Linked DNA regions of Homo sapiens: regions 1 and 3 are each linked to region 2. Evidence: promoter capture Hi-C in human tissues and cell types (Jung and others, 2019). All regions are on one chromosome and are shown on one strand. Each heading gives the region's core, a stretch centred on a gene start or on the middle of the fragment in contact. The rest is flanking DNA. Distances are from core to core; before and after follow the strand shown. Region 1 has its middle 46 kb from the start of ATP8B1. Region 2 holds the start of ATP8B1 (ATPase phospholipid transporting 8B1). Region 3 overlaps ATP8B1 (ATPase phospholipid transporting 8B1).

Region 1 (4,092 bases), core at 329-2,828, 47 kb before region 2:
CTCTGTTGCCCAGGCTGGAGTGCAGTGGTGCCATCTTGGCTCACTGCAACCTCCGCCTCCCAGGTTCAAGCGATTCTCCTGCCTCAGCCTCCTGAGTAGCTGGGATTACAGGTGTGTGGCACCATGCCCGGTTAATTTTTTTATTTTTAGTAGAGACAGGGTTTCACCATGTTGGTCAGGCTCGTCTCGAACTCCTGACCTTGTGATCCTCCCACGTTGGCCTCCCAAAGTGCTGGGATTACAGGCGTGAGCCACTGCACTAGGCCACAGTTGCCTTTTTACGTAGACATTATATGCAACAAAATTGCTTAACTCACTTATTCTAAATGCTTATTTATATATTCCTTTAGAATATTGTATATACACAGCCATATAACTTTCAAATAACGTCAGTAGAGTTTCTAAATGTATACATTTCTTTCTAAATCTTCAAATAACATCAGTAGTGTTTCTTTCTAAATTTCTAAATTTATTCTCTGTATTTTTCTATTCTTTATTCCCTGACTGGGACCTCTAGTACAATATTGAATAGAAGTGGTGATATTGAATATTCTTGTGGCAGATGTGGAGGTGAGTCTCTCATATCTTCCTTCAAAACAGAAGCCAGGTGCGGTGGCTCATGCCTGTAATTCCAGCATTTTGGGAAGCTGGGGCAGTTGGATCACCTGAGCTCAGGAGTTTGAGACCAGCCTGGCCAACATGGTGAAACCCCATTTCTACAAAAAATACAAAAATTAGCCATGCGTGGTAGCACACGCCTGTAGTCCCAGCTACTAGAGAGGCTGAGGCAGAAGAATTGCTTGAACCTGGGAGGTGCAGGTTGCAGTGAGTCGAGATCATGCCACTGCACTCCAGCCTGGGTGAGAGTGAGACTCCATCTCAAAAAAAAAAAAAAAAAAAAAAAACCTGCCTTGGAGAGTGCAGTTGGCTCACAGCTTCTGGCTGCAGGCACCTTCAGCATCTTCTTCAGCTTTTGAGCTGGGCCATAGATTTCCAGAGCAGCCTTCAATCAATTAATGGGCTTGGCAGTGATGCAAGGACTCATCTTTTTGGCCGGTGTGGGACTCCTCCATGGGAAATCTTTGAGCCACAGCTCCCCATTCGGCTAGTCAAGATATTCTCAGAGCTGCAGTGTAATTTGCTGTTCTTCCTACCTTATCCTCTTCCTTCCCTTCTCCTTGCACAGGGGTCAGATCAGCATTTAGGTCTGAAGCTTTCTCTGCCCTCTCTTGCTGCCTCCCCTCTTGAGCTTTCATGGGAATTGCCTCCAATAAATCCATTGCACTTCTAAATCCATCTTGACGTCTGCTTCCAAGAGGACTTAGCCAACATACTTGCCCTATTCCCCAAATCAAAAGAAAATTTTCAACATTTAACTATTAATTATGGTGTTCACAATAGGCTTTTTGTAGATGCTCATTATCAGATAAGGAAGTTTCTTTTTATTTTTTCCATTGATGACAAATGGATACCGAATGGATACCGAATGTAATCAAATTTTTTTCTACATCTTTTGACGTGATTTTACATTTTTTTCTCCTCTGTTCTGGTAATGTAGATAATTACAATGGTTGATTTTTGAGTGCTAAATAAATCTTCTTTTCCTGGGGAAAAAAAAACACCCAACTTGATCATTACTTATTGCCTATTTGCATATTGTTGGATTCTATTTGTAAATATTTTGCATAGGATTTTTACAACTATTTTCATGAGTGAGATTAGCCTGAAATAATCCTTTCTTGTAGTGGGTCTTTTTTGTAGTTTTCAGATCTCTGCTGAAATTATGTCTTGCTTTTAATCTTGAATATCATAAGCAAGTCTTGTCTGCTAACTCCAGTATCTGGAGTTCCTTTAGGTCTGTTTCAATTTTTGCTAGTTCTGCTCTTTTTTGCTCATATAGTATTTTGTCTCCACATGTGGCCTGGCTGTCTTTTTTCTTCTCTTTTATTTTCTTTTTTTAGATGGAGTCTCACTCTGTAGCCCAGGCTGGAGTGCAGTGGTGGGATCTTGGCTCACTGCAATCTCCACCTCCCAGGTTTAAGCAATTCGCCTGCCTCAGTCTCTCGAGTAACTGGGATTATAAGCCTGCGCCAGCACGCCTATTTTTTGTATTTTTAATAGAGGCAGGGTTTCACCATGTTGGCCAGGCTGGTCTCGAACTCCTGACATCAAGTGATCACCTGCCTCGGCCCCCCAAAGCGCTGGGATTACAGGCATGAGCCACTGTGCCTGGCTGCCTTGTTGTTTTTTATTCTGTGCTGGACTTTATATTTGCAAAATTATTTTTAGAAATAATTTGATGCCTAGGTTGATGCCATCTTTCTCTAGAGAAATTTGCCCCTGCCAGGAGCCTGGAACACTAGCAATCCAATTTGAGAGACTGGGAAGATTTGAGGTTGAGCTGCAGTCCCAACAATAGTGTGTTATATTCTAGTTCACCCCTATTCATAGCGTGTAGCCCTTCAGGGTTCTAACACAAAGCAAAAGTTGCTCATCGGGGCCTTACCTTCTTGGCAGCCCTGGACTCCAGGATGCCAGTGCACCTCTCCCTGCAATCCCTGCAAGGTTGTCCAAAAGCATTGATCAGCCTCTCAGGCACCCGCTCCTAGATCACCAAATATCAGTGGAAATGCAGCTCCCCTCCCTGAGATTCCATCCTCCCCAGATCTGAGCATTACAATTACTCACTTTGTACTCACTTATTATGATAGAGATTCCTATATAATATATGTCTATATGAAATTGTCCATTTAACTTAATTTTTCAAATGAACTGGCAAAAAGTTGTTCACAACTTACTCATATCTTTTTAATGTCTGTGGCGCTTAAGTAATGTTCCTTTTCCTTTTTCTTTTTTTTTTTTTTTTTGAGATAGAATCTTGCTCAGTCACCCAGGCTGGAATGCAGTGGTGTGATCATGGCTCACTGCAGCCTTAACCTCCTGGGCTTAAGCAATCCTTCCACCTCAGCCTCCCAAGTAGCTAGGACCACAGGTGCATGCCACAATACCCACCTAATTTTTGTATTTTTTTTGTAGAGATGGAGTCTTGCTATGTTGCTCAGGCTTGTCTCAAACTCCTGGCCTCAAGCAATCTGCCCACTTTGGCTTCCCAACGTACTGGGATTGCAGGCGTGAGCCACTGTGCCTGGCTTGTAATGTTCTTTCTTCGTTCATAACATTATATGTGTTCTCACTCTCTTTCCAGAGTTTTGCCATCTTATTATTCTCATGAAGGAATCACCTTATGATTGTGTCATTCCTCTCTATTGCATGCTTGTTTTCTTTTCTTTTCGAGAGAGGATCTCCCTCTGTCACTTCGGCTGGAGTGCAGTGGCACAATCATGGCTCACTGCAGCCTCCACCTCCTGGGCTCAAGCAATCCTCTCGCCTCAGCCTCCCAAATAGCTGGGACTACAGGCACATGCCACCACACCAGGCTAATTTTTTTTTTTTTTTTTTTAAATAGAGGTGAGGTCTCTCTATGTTGTCCAGGCTGGTCTTGAACTCCTGGCCTTCAGCCTCCCAAAGTGTTGGGATTACAGGCGTGAGCCACCGCACCCAGCAGTATATTTGTTTTCTATTTCATTGTTTTCTATTCTTATCTTTCTACTACTTACTTTCTACTTACTTTCTTATTACTACTATATATTTACTTATTTTATATTCTTTGGGCTTATTTTGTGGCTCTTTAAGTTCTTTAGATAGATACTCAGCTCATTAATTTTCAGCCTTTCATCATTTCTGTCTGATATGGTTTGGCTCTGTGACCCCATCCAAATCTCATCTTGTAGCTCCCATAATTCCCACTTGTTGTGGGAGGGACCCAGTGAGAGATGATTGAATTATGAGGACGGGACTTTCTCGTGCTGTTCTCATGATAGTGAATGGGTCTCACAAGATCTGATGGTTTTAAAAATGAGAGTTTCCCTGCATAAGCTCTCTCTTTGCCTGCTGCCATCCACATAAGATGTGACTTGCTCCTCCTTGCCTTCTGCCATGATCTTGAGGCCTCCCCAGCCATGTGGAACTGTAAGTCCAATCAACCTCTTTCTTTCGTAAATTGCCCAGTCTCAGGTATGTCTTTATCAGCAG
Region 2 (4,268 bases), core at 1,761-4,260:
AGTATTATTATTCGCTCTGTTGCCCAGGCTGGAGTGCAGTGGGGCAATCTCAGCTCACTGCAACCTCTGCCTTCAGGGTTCAAGCAATTATCTGCCTCAGCCTCCTCAGTAGCTGGGATTACAGATGCCCACCATCACGCCTGGCTAATTTTTTGTATTTTTAGTAGAGACAGGGTTTCACCATCTTGGCCATGCTGATCTTGAACTCCTGACCTCATGATCCACCTGCCTTGATCTCCCAAAGTGCTGGGATTACAGGTGTGAGCCATCGTGCCTGGTCTATTATTTTTTAATGTATAAATCTTAAGCATACAGGTCAATGAATTCTTGCATATGCGTCTACTCGTATAATTATCATTCAGATCAAGAAATATAACTTTTACAGCACTCCAAAAGGCAGCTCCTTCAGGGGCCTTCTCCCAGTCCAGCCTGTTCTATTTTTTCAAAGCATTTGCCACCTTTTAAGATACTTGCCGAGTGCAGTGGCTCACGCCTATAATCCCAGCACTTTGGGAGGCTGAGGTGGGTGGATCATGAGGTCACGAGTTCACGACCAGCCTGACCAACATGGTGAAACCTGTCTCTACTAAAAATACAAAAATTAGCCTGGCCTGGTGGCTGTGCCTGTAACCCCAGCTACTCGGGAGGCTGCGGCAGGAGAATTGCTGGAACCCAGGAGGTGGAGGTTGCAGTGAGCCGAGATCACACCACTGCACTCCAGCCTGTGCAACAGAGCGAGCCTCTGTCTAAAAAAAAAAAAAAAAAAAGATATTTGATTGGCTCATAGATGTACCCAAGCAACTAGAAAACTGCCTGACACACAGTAGGCACTCACACTCAAATCTTTGTTGAATGAAAGAATATTATTTTATTTTGAGACAGAGCCTCGCTCTGTTGCCCAGGCTGAAGCGCAGTGGCACAGTCTCGGCTCACTGCCTGCCACCTCAGTCTCCCAGGTTCAATTGATTCTCCTGCTTCAGCCTCTTGAGTAGCTGGGACCACAGGCGCCCGCCACCATGCTTGGCTAATTTTTGTATTTTTAGTACAGGTGGTGGCTCATGACTGTAATCCCAGCACCTTGGGGGGCTGAGGCAGGTGGACCGCTTGAACTGGGGAGTTCAAGACAAGCCTGGGCAACATAGTGAAACCCAACCCTGTCTCTATAAATAAATAAACAAGTAAATAAATGCAGACATCAGAATGGTATTGATCAGATCTAGGTACAGGTGTAGATTGGATGCGTCCTTGTTTAGTCTCTTCTATGTAACATTTTCTTGGACAGGTTGAGCACTTGGTAGTGGATCTGCAAGGAGGGGGTGCCCCCTTTAGTCTGGAATCCCCTCTTGATTCCTAGGTTTGCTGGCATTTATCCAGATAGGGGCAGAGTCTTCCTAAACGGCTTCCCTCCTTTGGAGTCTGCTGCTCCTTGCATGCCATAACCCAGTCTTGAGAACCTGGCTCACCTTCCATTGCTCCCCTCTCCCAGTCAGTTGCAGGTTGTGGCCACTTCGTGCCCTATCTCTCTTCTGTGGTGTCCCTTGAATTTCCTCCTTTTTACTTCCCCTGGCAACTCCTCCGTATGTCGCTGTCCCAGCCTCTCAAGTGATTCTCCCATCTTCAGTTTTATCCTCTCTAGACTATCTCCCTATTATTTTCCCTAAAACACAACCTTGATCATGCTCATGCTCGGTCCTAAATTGTCAACGGTTTGCAGGTGCTACCAAAAACAAGTCTAAATGTCTTAGATCAACCAGTGTCACCAACAGGCCCTATGTTCTCTTGCATCGGTACCTTTGTTCTGTCGTTAGCTTCAGAATATAAGTGCTGGAAGAGACCATCTGGTCCAATCTCATTTTACAAATGAGGAAACTGAGGCCTGGATAGATTGAGTGACTGACCAGCACCTAGTCAGAGATCAAGTTTGACTCATGAAAAAGAAGCCTAGAGCAGCCTCGGGGTTGGTATCAGACAAGATTCTACCAGTTGGCCACCCGTTGAATACCCTCTCTACACAACTCTGATCCTTAAAGCTGTGGATCTTTGAGTCCCATCAAGCACGGCCTCCTGTAGGAAGCCTCTGTGATGACCCAGTTGGGAGTCTGGACTCTTGGGCATAGATGTGAGCCTCTAGGTGACTGGGAATCGTGTGGGAGTCCTGGCTCCCCTACTGCATTTTAAGCAAACTCTGATCTTTGATTTTCCTCCATTCTTATCCCAACGACTCGGTCCATAGTCGGGGAGCGGCAAAAGTCTACTCAAGAAGGAGGGTAATGTCTATACTGCCAGGGAGGCACGATTCACCCGCTCAGACACCAGCCAGCAACGAGGCGCTGAGTCCAAAATTTCCACCTACACCGCGTGGTTCACGGGCCGCACCTTAACTCCTTTTGACTCCAAACCCAAAAAAACTCGATAGCGTTTGGACTCGGCAGAAAGCCTGCTGGCTGCAATCACAGGATACGTTTCTGGAAGTCTTGAGGCGCAGCCTCTTTCTTCACCCTCCACGCGGCGAACTTTGACGCGCATTCGGTGACCGGTCCCCAAACATGACTTGGCATCAAGAGGACACAGCTCCCCTTACCGAGGGAGCTCAGGTCCCGGGCGCGCCGCGGCCCCGCCAGCTTTCCAGGCTGGCTCAGTCCTCGACCCGGGGTGACGGCCAAGCCAGCCAAGGGCAGCGGGAAAGTGACGCTGGGCTGGAGAGGTGTGGTGGCGAGTGCGGCCCCCGGGGAGCTAAGAGCAGCCGCAGCAACTGGGTCTCAGGCTGGGCGAGGCAAGGGCTCGTAGGCTGGGCTCGGAAGACTGAAAGGGGTGCCCACCTGACTCCAGGACGCACGGAGGGCGTGGGGCAGGAGCTGGACCTGGGCCGCCTCGGGCCGCCCCGGGGCTTGCAGTCCAGCCCCTCTCCGCCCTAGGGAGGGAAAAAGGGAGGGGAGAAGGCCGAGCCCGCCTCCAGCCCCAGCCCCAGCCCCAGCGAGGCTCGGCGGCCGCGGCTGCTGGAGGGAAACCAGAGGCACCTCCCCGAGCGGAGAAACCAGTTTGGCCGGTCCGGCGGAGCGGAGGCAAAAGGGCGGCTGCAGAGGAAGGGTGCACGGACGCGGGGCGGGGAAAGGCGGGGGAGCCACTAGCGAGCCGCGAGAGCCGGAGGTGCCGCCGCCAACTAGACACGCTTCCCCGGGCCCCCGGCCAGCCCCCGTGCGCCATGCAGCGCTAGCGCGGCGGCCAGGGCTGGGGCCGGGCGGGCGGCGGCAGCGGCCAGGTGCGCAGCGAGCGCTCCGAGCGGCGCGCACCAGGCGGATGCCCCAGCCGGGGCCCAGCGAACGCCAGGTAAGCAGGGGTGCGGCGCCGGGGGCCCCCAGACCTTCCCAAGCCCCTTGGCCCGGCGGTGTCCTGCAGGTTCCCTGGCCGCTCCCGCCGCACTTTGGAGATCCGGGATGCGGCGGCAGCAGCTGTCAGCGCCCTCGGACTCCCGAGCCCGCACAGGTGGGATTTGGGTGGAGGTGCTGGGAGCCCCCGAGGCCTCGGGGACGGCGAGACACGGCCGGCTGGGCAGGCAGCGCTGCGGAGAGTTCCGTGGGGTTTTCACCTGCCTAGAGGAGGGAAATCTCGGGGTGTTTGGGTTCTTCGATCGGTAGCGACACACATGTCCGGGGGTTAAGCCAGGTAGGGCTTGCGGCTCCTTGGGGGATGCCGCTGGCTCCTGTGCGGTGGCTACCGCCCCTCTGGAAGACCCCGGTGACCGGGTCCTGCTGGGGCGCTCTTTGGGAGCAGATGCCAACGTGTCCGAAAAGGACTTGCGGGCCAAACGTATCTGACCGCGGCCCACCTGCCGGGAGGGATGGAGGGGGTGAGATCGCTCTCCTCCCCAGCTCCTGTGGCAGGGCCAGGTACTCCCAGACATCTTCCGTGCGCTTTATTGTGGGATGGGGAGGGGAGGTGATGGGGAAGACCGACACCACTGTTTTTCCGGTGACTGTCGGGTCGCGTCCGCCAGCCCCGCTGAGATGGCTGCAGGCATCTCCTTCCCTCAGCAGTTTGGTGCCCTGCGCTGTCACCTCGCTGTGTGCACGAGGAGGGGCAACTTGTTGGGGGGCGCGGGGAGATGTTGCAGAGAATGGCCCAGTGCTTTAACACCCCTCGCCCCCACTTCTCCAACTCCCTCCTTCTCCCCAAAGTGAAAGAAAAGTTCTGAAGTGTCTGCCCAACTTTTCCGACGGAGGCGTGTGCCTGTGGTCCCTGCCGGGGGTTGGTGGCTGGTTGCGGGGGGG
Region 3 (3,701 bases), core at 921-3,420, 39 kb after region 2:
AGGTCAGGAGTTCGAGACCAGCCTGGCCAATATGGTGAAACCGTGTCTTTACTAAAAATACAAAAAATCAGCCAGGCGTGGTGGCAGGCACCTGTAATCCCAGCTACTTGGGAGGCTGAGGCAGGAGAATCACTTGAATCTGGGAGGCAGAGGTTGCAGTGAGCCAAGATGGCACCATTGCACTCCAGCCTGGGCAACAAGAGCAAAACTCTGTCTCAAAAAAAGAAAAGAAAAGAAAAAAAAATTATTGTGATAAAATATACACAACATACAATCTACCATCTTAACATTTTTTTTTTTCTTTTTGAGACAGAGTCTTGCTTTGTTGCCCCAGCTGGAGTGCAATAGCATGATCTCAGCTCACTGCAACCTCTGCCTCCGGGGTTCGAGCGATTCTCCTGCCTCAGCCTCCTGAGTAGCTGAGATTACAGGCACCTGCCACCATGCCCGGCTAATTTTTGTATTTTTAGTAAAGACGGGGTTTCACCATGTTGGCCAGACTGGTCTCTAACTCCTGCCCTCAGATGATCCAGTCAGCTTCCCAAAGTGCTCGGATTACAGGTGTGAGCCAATGCGCTTGACCTTAACCTTTTTTTTTTTTTTTCTTTTGAGACAGAGTCTCACTCTGTCACCCAGGCTAGAGTGCAGTGGCGCGATCTTGGCTTACTGCAACCTCCACCTCCTGGGTTCAAGCAATTTTCCTGCCTTAACCTCCTAAGTAGCTGGGACTACAGGTGCCCGCCACTATGTCTGGCTAATTTTTTGTATTTTTAGTAGAGACGCGGTTTCACCATATTGACCAGGCTGGTCTCGAACTCCTGACCTTGTGATCCGCCTGCCTTGACCTCCCAAAGTGCTGGGATTAAAGGCATGAGCCACTGCACCCGACCCAACCATTTTTAATTATACACTTCAGTGTCTTTAAGGGCATTCACATGGTTGTGCAGCCATCACCGCCATCCACCTCCAGAAGTTCTTCTCCAACTGAAGCTCTGCACTCATTAAACAACTCCCCTTCCTCCCAACCTTTGGCAACCATCATCCTGCTTTCTGTCTCTGAATTTGCCTACTCTGCATTCCTAATGTAAGTGAAATCATACATCATGTGTCCTTCTGTGACTGGTTTATTTTACTTAGCATGTCTTTATGCATGTGCCAGGATTTCCTTTTTAAGGCCAAATGATAGTTCCTTGTCTCTATACCACATTTTGTGTATCCAGTTATCAGATAGCATTTGGATTGTTTCTACCTCTTTGCTTTTGTGAATATCACTGTTGTGAACATGGGTCTACTGTATAAATATCTGCTCGGATTCCTGCCTTCAATTCTTTTGGGTATATACCCAGAAGTGAGATTGCTAGATCCTATGGTAATTCTATGTTTATTTTTTGAGGAACCATTATGCTGTTTTCCACAGTGGCTACACCGTTTTATATTCCCACTGGCAGTGCAAAAGTGTTTCAACTCCTCTGCAGCCTCACCAACACTTATTTTCTGTTTTTTTTTTTTTTTTTTTTTTTGACAACTGAAAGTGAAAAGTTAATTCAAGAATAGTGTCAGGCTGGGCACAGTGTCTCACACCTGTAATCCTAGCATTTTGGGAGGCTGAGGCAGGTGGATCACTTGAGGCCAGGAGTTTGAGACCAGCCTGCCTAACATGGTAAAACCCCATCTCTACTAAAAATACAAAAATTAGCCGGGTGTGGTGGCAGGAGCTTGTAATCACAGCTACTGAGGAGGCTGAGGCAGGAGAAACACTTGAACCCAGGAGGCAGAGGTTGCAGTGAGCCGAGATCACACCACTGCACTCCAGCCTGGGCTACAGAGCAAGACTCGGTATGAAAGAAAGAAAGAAAGAGAGAAAGAGAGAAAGAAAGAAAGAGAGAAAGAGAGAAAAAGAGAAAGAAAGAAAGAAAGAGGGAGAGAAAGAAAGAAAAAGAAAGAAAGAAAGAAAAAGAAAGAAAGAAAGAAGGAAGGAAGAAAAGAAGAAAGAAAGAAGGAAGGAAGGAAGGAAAGAAGGAAGGAAGGAAGGCAGGCTCCCTGGGGCAGGTGGCTGCACAGTCATGGCGGAGGTGACCAAAGCCACATCATGTCCGTCGTTCGTTCATCTGTCCATGCCAGATGGATCGTGGGGAAGGTGATTGGGACAAAAATACAAAAGACTGCTAAAGCGAGAGTGACCGGGCTTGTTCTGGATCCCTATTTATTAAAGTATTATAATAAGTGGAAAACCTCCTTTGTTCACGATGGCCTTCGGCAGTGCACAGCTGGGGATATCGTGCTTCTCAGAGCTTTACCTGTCCCATGAACGAAGCATGTGAAACATGAACAGGCCAAGATCATTTTCAAAGTTGGAAAAGTCATAGATCCAGTGACAGGAAAGCCCCGTGCAGGAACTACCTACCTGGAGAGTCTGTTGAGTTTAGAAACTACCCAGCTAAGCAAAAATCTGGAAGAACTCAGTATCTCTTCGGCACACTGAAGGAGGAGTGGAAGGAGCTAAAGGGAAAGATTGACATGTTTATGTTATGCAAAAATAAATTTTTCAAAGCTTCATCCCCCCGCCCCCCAAAAAAAAGAACAGTGAAGAATTGTGTCAGAGGAAGAGAAAGTTTTCCAAACTTTCTTCAATTTACTTACTTGGTCAATTAAAACCCAGACATTGAGTACTTATTGTGTGATAAGTTGCTATGTTAAAAGAAATGACATCAATAGAATTGATTCTAGTAGGTTCTGTTTAGTTCTAACAAACTTGAAAATGTTTGTTGGAATTTGAAAAATAAATGCATATGAAAGCTTAAATGTTGAAATGTTACCTCTCGTTTCTGATACAATTTGTGGAAACAGAGCTCTATCTTTAGAGTACAATTTTTTTTTTTTCTTTTGAGATGGGGTTTCGCTCTTCTTGCCCAGGCTGGAGTGCTGTGGCACGATCTCGGCTCACCGCAATCTCCGCCTCCCAGGTTCAAGCGAATCTCCTGCCTTAGCCTCCCTAGTAGCTGGGATTATAGGCACGTGCCACCAAGCCCGGCTGATTTTGTATTTTTAGTAGAGACAGGGCCTCTCCATGTTGGTCAGGCTGGTCTCGAACCTTGACCTCAGGTGATCTGCCCGCTTCGGCTTCCCAAAGTGCTGGGATTACAGGCATGAGCCACCGCGCCCGGCCTAGAGTACAATTTTTTAACAACCATTTCATTCTGACAATCAATCCTAAGAAATGACTTGATAACAGTGCAAAAAACGTGTGTTCAAGGAGTTCATTTTCCCTCACTTAGATTCTCATTCTTTGAACTCCTGACTTTCTTAGAACTCCAAGTGCCAGTTATCTTTGGATCAAGAGAAGTAATCTCTATCAACATCTGGTTGCTATGTCTCAGATTTTTAAAAGATTGTTCAAGGCTGTAAAGACACAGCCTTGAATTACTACGTTTGGGAAGCACATTGCTTCATCAGGAGATAATGGGTTTGGTAGTTTAAGTAACAGAGAGTATTGCTGTAGGAAAGATATTCCAAGTGTTAAAAAGGAACAATGAAAAAGCAAAAAAGTAAGTAGGTTCATGTTTATGGTGCTGGGCACATGCACCACTGTTCACTGTAAATATCTTCGATTTGTCATCACTTGAGGATCACGGGATATAAGCAGCCTATTGCTCTCCTCTTCTGCCTTTACTGTGTGTTCCACTCTTGAGAGTAAGACTTAA

Evidence for each region. Contacts are between HindIII fragments. The study calls those that stand out against the background at their distance.
Region 1: a contact is called between a fragment that was not itself captured here and the fragment with the promoter of ATP8B1 in region 2, in 2 of the 25 tissues and cell types used here (hippocampus and pancreas).
Region 3: a fragment that was not itself captured here is called in contact with the fragment with the promoter of ATP8B1 in region 2 in 7 of the 25 tissues and cell types used here (IMR-90 fibroblasts, aorta, hippocampus and 4 more).

Annotation. Positions count from the first base shown.
Region 1 is chr18:57,847,362-57,851,453 of GRCh38, reverse strand. No RefSeq gene overlaps it. Among named protein-coding and RNA genes, the nearest start is that of ATP8B1, 46 kb to the right of the region's middle. The HindIII fragment of the contact is 6,491 bases long and covers 1-4,092 here.
Region 2 is chr18:57,802,057-57,806,324 of GRCh38, reverse strand. It overlaps ATP8B1 (ATPase phospholipid transporting 8B1), which reads left to right and starts at 3,010. Exons shown (of 28, transcript NM_001374385.1): 1 at 3,010-3,327. RefSeq lists an enhancer at 2,753-3,390. The HindIII fragment of the contact is 14,543 bases long and covers 1-4,268 here.
Region 3 is chr18:57,762,577-57,766,277 of GRCh38, reverse strand. All of the region lies in intron 1 of ATP8B1 (ATPase phospholipid transporting 8B1), which reads left to right. It also overlaps the pseudogene MRPS17P7. Among named protein-coding and RNA genes, the nearest start is that of ATP8B1, 39 kb to the left of the region's middle. The HindIII fragment of the contact is 4,120 bases long and covers 111-3,701 here.